2 separate regions of the Homo sapiens genome follow, and region 2 is linked to region 1. Evidence: promoter capture Hi-C in human tissues and cell types (Jung and others, 2019). All regions are on one chromosome and are shown on one strand. Each heading gives the region's core, a stretch centred on a gene start or on the middle of the fragment in contact. The rest is flanking DNA. Distances are from core to core; before and after follow the strand shown. Region 1 holds the start of PPFIA4 (PPFI scaffold protein A4). Region 2 holds the start of ATP2B4 (ATPase plasma membrane Ca2+ transporting 4).

Region 1 (3,473 bases), core at 613-3,112:
TAAGATTTCAGCAATCAACTCAGAGATGAGACCCAGGAGCCTGGCTGCCTGCCATGCCCTGCCCCTCCAGCCCTCCTTTACAGCCCAGCAGCCAGACCTCATGCACCACACGGTTCTGACATCACGACATGCTCAGCAGCACAAACCCCAACTCCACTGGATGCGAATTCCCTTCTACACCCTCCTCCCCCACACTATTCCATCTTCCAGAGATGGCGTCTCCCACTACACAGAGTGTCTAGGACATTCTTGGCCCCCAATAACCATTTTGTCATTCATTATCTCCTTACTTTGAGATACCGTTTACCCCACGAAGCCTCCTCAAGCCTCAGGACAAAATCTGAGAAAATAACCAAGGGAAATCATTCAAGCTGCCCTTTTGCTTAGGCAGCTTCCCTGGGACTACCTGGCCAGTTAATAGTGGTAGGGGGTGTGTAGGTTGGAGTCTAATTCAGACAGCTGTTTGAAAGCACGTGGACACAGTTCTTTCTTTTTCTAATCCAACAGCAATGTAACAGAATGGGGATGGGCGGTGAGAAGGGTGTTAACAGAATACCTGCTATGTGTGCCTCCTATGTGTACCTTTCAGCTACTCCGTGGCTGTAAATTGCCTTCAGAAGACCTAGCACCGAGCATAGTATCTGGCAGATAGTAGGTGTCCAACAAATGTTTGCTGGATGTTGAGCAAAGTACTAGGTACCAGATCCAAGAACTCTGGAAAGGACTATGGGAAATCCCTGAAACCTGGCTCCTGGAGGGGACCCTTAAGCTCACACCAGGAGGGGATCTCCCTGCGAAGCAGCGCCTCCTTAACCACTTGCTCTCCACACAGAACGGCCCCAACTCTCCTGCTCCTCTGATGGAAACTACCAGCACACCTCTCCTCAAAGGTGACATCAGCTCCTAGTGGCACCTTGTCCTGGATCCCTCCTCCTTCTCGAAGAAAACCACCTACACCATGTCTCCAAGTCCTCCAGCCCGACCTCTCTCTTCCCACCCACCATCAAAACCTCAAAATCTGCGCTGGAAAACATCCCTACTGCGTGGACGTAAGTCAGCGCCCCACTCCCACCCTCCCAGTTCAGGCATCTCTATTCCAGCCCTCTTTTCCTGTTGCGCCCACCCCTGTCCCCACCCCCACCAGGCCTCGGGTTGGCCGCTCCTTCCACCCCACCGCCCTGGCACTGCGGAGATGGGGGCATCTCTGGCACAGACTGAGGCTGGCAGTTCGAGGAATGGAGAGCTAGCGACAGGAACAGGGGTGCTATGAGCAACTCGGGAAAGATTAAGACCCCCGCGAAGAGCGAAGACCTCAGCCCATCAGAATCGCGTCCCCAAAGGAGTGGGGTTGGCCCCGGAGCCGAGAGGCGCTTTTTCTGACTCTCCTGGAGGGGAAATGGGGGCGCAGTCTGCTCCGTTCCCACCGGGAGACTCGCCAACTCGGCCCCCTCCCCTGAAGCCGATGGAGCAGAGGGCGCACTCCACGCCCTCCCCGCAGATCAGGCATCGCCCCTATCCTCACCCCCAAGGGCACAGGGCACCGCAAAGGAGGGCGAGGGGCGGCAGGGTAAGCAGTACCGACGCCTGCCGGAGGTAGCACATACGGAGTCAAAAAGGGCTGTTTCCCGAGGTGCGATAGACGAGACCCCTCCCCAAACTGTCGAGGGGAGCTGGAGATGGGGAAAAGACGCATCCTACCCCAGTCCAGGCTCTGGGCGCTCACCTGCCTGCAAATGCCGAAGGCCAGGCGGCTAGGCTCGGAAGCAGCAGGGAGCCGCCCCCGACCCGTGCAGCCCGACACGTCCTAGAGCCGAGCCGGCGCCGAGGTAGCTGCAGCCTCCGCCGCCCAAGCGCGCGGCCGCGGGGCCCCGCCCCCTTCCTCCGCGGACAACCCCCCCCGGCTCCGCCCCCTAGGCGGGGCTGGGCTGCCGCGACCGAGGCCACGCCTCCCGCCCCCAAGCGCCTCGGGTCCGGGCACGTGACGAGAGCGCCGCTTTGAGGCCGCGCGCCATCTTGGTTCAGCCTAGGAGGTGGCGAAGTGCCAGAGTTTTATTCCGCAGAAGGGTCTCAGGGCCCAGGAGTGCTGCCCACATTCTGCCCCTCCCTCTGAACTCGCCCTTGTTCCTAGTCTAACAGCCCGTTCCCTAAATTGGCCTTAGTCTCGGCCTTGTAATTGTCAAGTTTGTCACCTTTCACGCTTGCTCTCCTGCCCGTTCCTTGCTTTTCCTTTGATCGCACCCATTTTTTAAGTGGGGAAACTTGATATCCGGATACTACATCTGTAGTATGCTCTTCAGTGAATTGTGTCGCTTGCCTTCAGGCACCTGGCTGTTCTAACACTGTTACTACAAAATGAAGGGTTTGTCTATTACATATACATAGTATGAAAACAAGTCTCAAATGCCAAAATTCCTGACTGACAAATTTTAGCTAAGCCTCTCCATTTTCCTGAATTGCTCCCTTACCCTGCCCCCTGTGGCTATTAATGCATCTTTTCCATCTGCTTTGTGAAGTTTCATCACAGTGCCTACTCAATCCTTTACCAATACCCAGTAAGCACCACTAAAAGTGTGAACAATTTTTATATACATGCAATGTGTTCATGTGTGTGTATTTATAGATATATACACAGCATGTTCTATATCAGCAGCAAATGCTATAGTTGAGATCAGTGACACATACAACCTTCTCTCATTTATCTTCCACCCAATATATTCACCATTTGGCATAATTTCCTTGCGTCTCTTTGAAGACAGGGAAATCTTGAGTAATTCTGATCTGAGGGGTGGGTAAGTGAAGCTAAATCTGTGACCCTTGAACAACAGGGCCTTCAACTGCACAGGGCCAGTTGCATGCAGATTTTCTTCCTTCCCCGCCACCCCTGAGACAGCAAGACTACCCCTCCTCTTCTTACTCGTCAGCCTGCTCAACATGATGACCCACTTAATGAACAGTAAATGTATTTTCTCTTCTTTGATTTTCTTAATAACATTTTCTTTTCTCGAGCTTATTATAATAAGGTATATACTACATATACAAAATGCACATTAATCAACTGTTTATGTTATCAATAAGGCTTCCAGTCAACAGTAGGCTATTAAGTTTTCGGGCAGTCAAAAGTCATAGCAGATTTTCAACTGTGTGAGGGTCTGTGTCCATAACTCTCACAGCGTTCAAGGATCAATTTATGTTGCTTGACAGAGCAAAATCACAGTATATAACCTGTAGTCCAGAAAGTTCTAATTCTTCTTCGGGTGGTCTGGGGTCCTCACCAAAAGGAAATCCCTGAGACACTTCACATCCTGTCACTAATAAAGCATGTATCATGCTAGAAACGGCAACTCAGCCAATGCAGAGGAAGGCTGAAGCCAAGATAACGACTGGTAACACATTTTACCAAATGTTTGTCAATATTATGCTGAGAGAGAGCTGAGGCAGTATCTAGTACTGTATCTGTCACCATACCATGGAAT
Region 2 (3,473 bases), core at 670-3,169, 600 kb before region 1:
GCCTGGAATGAGCCTGGTCTCCTTCCTCCAGGTAGAGGGCTCAGAGTGGAGGGGGCGTAGTAGGGCCTCCAATGGGAAGCGCGTGGAGAAGGGGCAGCTTGGGGAGGGGCTTAAGGAGCAGGGCCAGGGTCTCTAGACTCCCTGCCAGACTCCTCACACAGAGGAGGGGGGCGCTGCAGAATGGGATTTTGTTTCCCTTCCCTCCCCCACTCCTTTCCCCTCTCCACAGGGGCCTCAGTTGAGTACCGGCCTATTTCTTCATCTGACATTCCCCCTGCCCGGCCAGCAGGCGCCGGCATCACGTCTGCAAGTTATTGTTAAGTCCGGCAGGAATGCCCAGGAGGGACGTGCCTCTGGCAGCAGAGTGCCCACTCCCCTCCCAAGATGCGGCTGGCCACTCCTGCACCCTCCACACCCAGTTGGAGAAGAGCGGCGGGTACCCTCAGGGAGGTGGAGGAGTGTAAGAGGCCAGACTCGACTCGGGGAAGGATGCCAGCAGCCCCCTCTACCAAGAGCGAGCCAAGTATGTAAAAGAAAGAGAGAAGGGAGAGCAGGAAGGACAATCCCAGTCTTAATTCCTAGCTCTTCAGCAAGCCAAGGCAGTGGCCCGAGACGCTCAGGGATCCTTCCACAGATGCCTGTGGCCCACCCCATCTGCCAAACACTCACCAGCCCCACAGTGTCCAGCCTCGACATCGGAAACTTTTCAATTCACCCTTCTCCTTCCTCCCCTTTGGGACCAGAGATGTGTGGGGCGGTGCCCTCGGAGACACTCATACAGTTGGTTCTGGACGCTCACACACACTCAAACAACAGCGGTACGAGGTAACTCCCAGCTTTTTCCACAGCTAATTATACATGTGAAAGTCTGAGGATGTTTTGCAAGCAGCACAGAGAAACTGCTGAGGTTTCTCTGCAAAGCTAAAGAAATTTAATTCGTGCACTCTCCTTCCCCACTCCTGCCAACTTCTCCCAGCCCACCTCCACCCCATGGCCCCAAAGTGCCCCTCTCCTAGTTCCCGCTGCAGCCCCTCTTTCTGCTGAAGATTTCTTTGGTTCCTTTTTTTTTTTTTTTTCCATCTCTCTTTTGGGCTTTCGAGAAAGGGAACAGACACGGAAAATATTTTTGCAACAGTTTTCCATCCTGCGTCTCATTCCCAAGCCAAGGGGGGAAGGGGAGGGCAGGAACGGAATGGGTTGAGGGAGGGGAGATAAATATTTTTTCCAAGAGCTCAATTTTGGTGTCAAAAAGAGAACCCTCCATTACCCTACCCCATAGCCCAGGAATGACAAGAACTAGGAAAAGAGAGATAAATCACTTGTTCGACTATATGGTTTCTCAGAACTGATAATAGGTAAAACAGTATTTGACAAATCTGTGCACACACACATATTTTAAAAAAAATCCTCCAAACCCAGTCGCATGAAATATTCTAGAAAGAGGAAAATCGGGGAGTTTTAGAAGCCATTGAGAGAAAAGAAAGAAACAAAGTTTGCAAATCACAAGTCAATTCATTCTCTGCAAGCCTACCTCTCTTTCTAGCAAAGATCCAGGTTTCTTCAGGCGGGACTCTCCCTCCGGGTTTCCATGGATGAGGGTAGGGTGGGGTGACCACCCACCAGTCTCCCCAGTGTGGCAACCAAGCTAGAGACGCTGGCTTTGCTCTCTTGCCTTTCTGGCTAAGGCCGGGGAGTGGGCTGGGTCTCCTCCCCCTGCCCCTCCAATGGGAAGGACCTCTCAGGTTCCTGAAAGAAAAAGGGTGCAGGAGAGCTGGGCGGGTGTCTCTGATCTTGCTCTCTTCGGAGGGATGGTGCCCCACGAAGTTCGTGCCCCCCCTCCCAGCCCCCAGCTTTGGACGATCTCAACAGCAGAGCTTTCTTAAGAAAATGCTTGTCATGGCAACAGCTCTAGCTAACTCGGGCCAGACTCTTGCTCACCAGCTCTCCCCAAGCAGTGCGGGAAGAGAGAGGGGAGGAGCAGGAGCTGGAACAGAGGTGGGACTTGGCGCGAGGCCAAACCATTACTCTACTGTTAAGGTGGCCCGATTCTTGCGGTTACTTCCTGGTTCGTCTTAAGGGGGAATGGGAAAAGAAAGGGAAGCAATCCTCTCCCCTGTCGGCTTTCTTCCCCGCCCTTGCTCTCACTTGTTGAATAGAAAGCTGAGTAGGGGTGGAGGAGGGGTGAGGGTGGAGGTGGGGAGTGGATGTGGGTGGCGGTATTCAACGGTTGCTGGGCGGAGGGGAAAAAAAAGGAAGCTTGGGCAGGCGGCTGGCTTCCTGCAGCTCCTACGGGCCTCTCAACCCCTTACTCACTTAGATCCAGGACCCAGAAACCCGAGGTGTCTGTGGACACTTGTATGTCCCCTCCTACCTTCCTGCTCCTGTCTGAATAGGGGGTTCCTTGGAGAAGGAGAATAAATTGTTTTGTAAACACACACACACACACACACACACACACACACACACACACACACACACCCGTCCTCCCCTACACCTTATATACAGGTCACATTTTGTTCCCTCTTGTCCCTGTACCCACCAGAGGTATACTGACAGTGCATGAAAATAGCTGCTTACTTTTGAGTCCTGCTATGCGTGGGCTATGACACCAAAAGCTTTGTCTATATGGTATCGTTTCTAGTCCTCATTTAATCTTGAAAGGTACTTATTATTAACCTCATTTCCTAGTTGAGGGAATTGAAGATTGAGTGTCTGGCCCAAGGTTATACATCCGGCTAATGACAGAGCCAACGATTCAAGACCAAGTCAGACAGACTCCAAAGCCCGAGTACTTTCCTGTACTTTGTATCATACTCCGGCACATATTTCCGTTTTAATTTGCACACACTCAGACATCCATGCACACTTATACACAGCCTGTAAACAGTTAATCACACCCCCATACCCACACACCCACTAGCATTGTGCAACAGTGCCACCCATAGATTTTGCATAGAACTTTATGGCTTTCAAGCACAAACATGCACCATCAGCTGGTTCACACAACATATCTTCATTGACTGACAGATTCCCACACCTACCTCAGCAAACACACTCATGTTTATATGCTTATGGAAGGCACATTGACATATGTCTCACAGGTTATAGCTATGAGCTATGCTGTGAAGAAGGTGACTGGCCACTACTTCCCAACCTTTTAAACAGAGGGTTGGGAAAAGGCCTCTTTGATCCTATCATTCTAACCCAACAGCTCACACCACCCCCTGTCCTTCTTTGCTGTCATCTCTGCCCCCAAGAAGCAGAGCCACATGTGCATGGAGAAACAGGGTTGTGAAACGGGGTCCAGTTTCCCCCGTGTCCAACTAGCACCCTTCCCAATGTTCTCTCATTTGGGTCCTCTTTTTCCTCTTCATTTTCTTACCCTGCTATTTCTTTTTTCTTTATGGTTTTTTTTTTTTTTTTTGAGACGGAGTCTTGCTCTGTTGCCCAGGCTGGAGTGCAGTGGCGTGATC

Evidence for each region. Contacts are between HindIII fragments. The study calls those that stand out against the background at their distance.
Region 2: a contact is called between the fragment with the promoter of ATP2B4 here and the fragment with the promoter of PPFIA4 in region 1, in 2 of the 25 tissues and cell types used here (lymphoblastoid cells and thymus).

Annotation. Positions count from the first base shown.
Region 1 is chr1:203,024,880-203,028,352 of GRCh38, reverse strand. It overlaps PPFIA4 (PPFI scaffold protein A4), which reads right to left and starts at 1,862. Exons shown (of 30, transcript NM_001304331.2): 1 at 1,724-1,862. RefSeq lists an enhancer at 1,415-1,936 and a silencer at 1,763-2,072. The HindIII fragment of the contact is 14,289 bases long and covers 1-3,473 here.
Region 2 is chr1:203,625,278-203,628,750 of GRCh38, reverse strand. It overlaps ATP2B4 (ATPase plasma membrane Ca2+ transporting 4), which reads right to left and starts at 1,919. Exons shown (of 21, transcript NM_001684.5): 1 at 1,532-1,919. RefSeq lists enhancers at 1,178-2,050, 2,051-2,925. The HindIII fragment of the contact is 18,846 bases long and covers 1-2,436 here.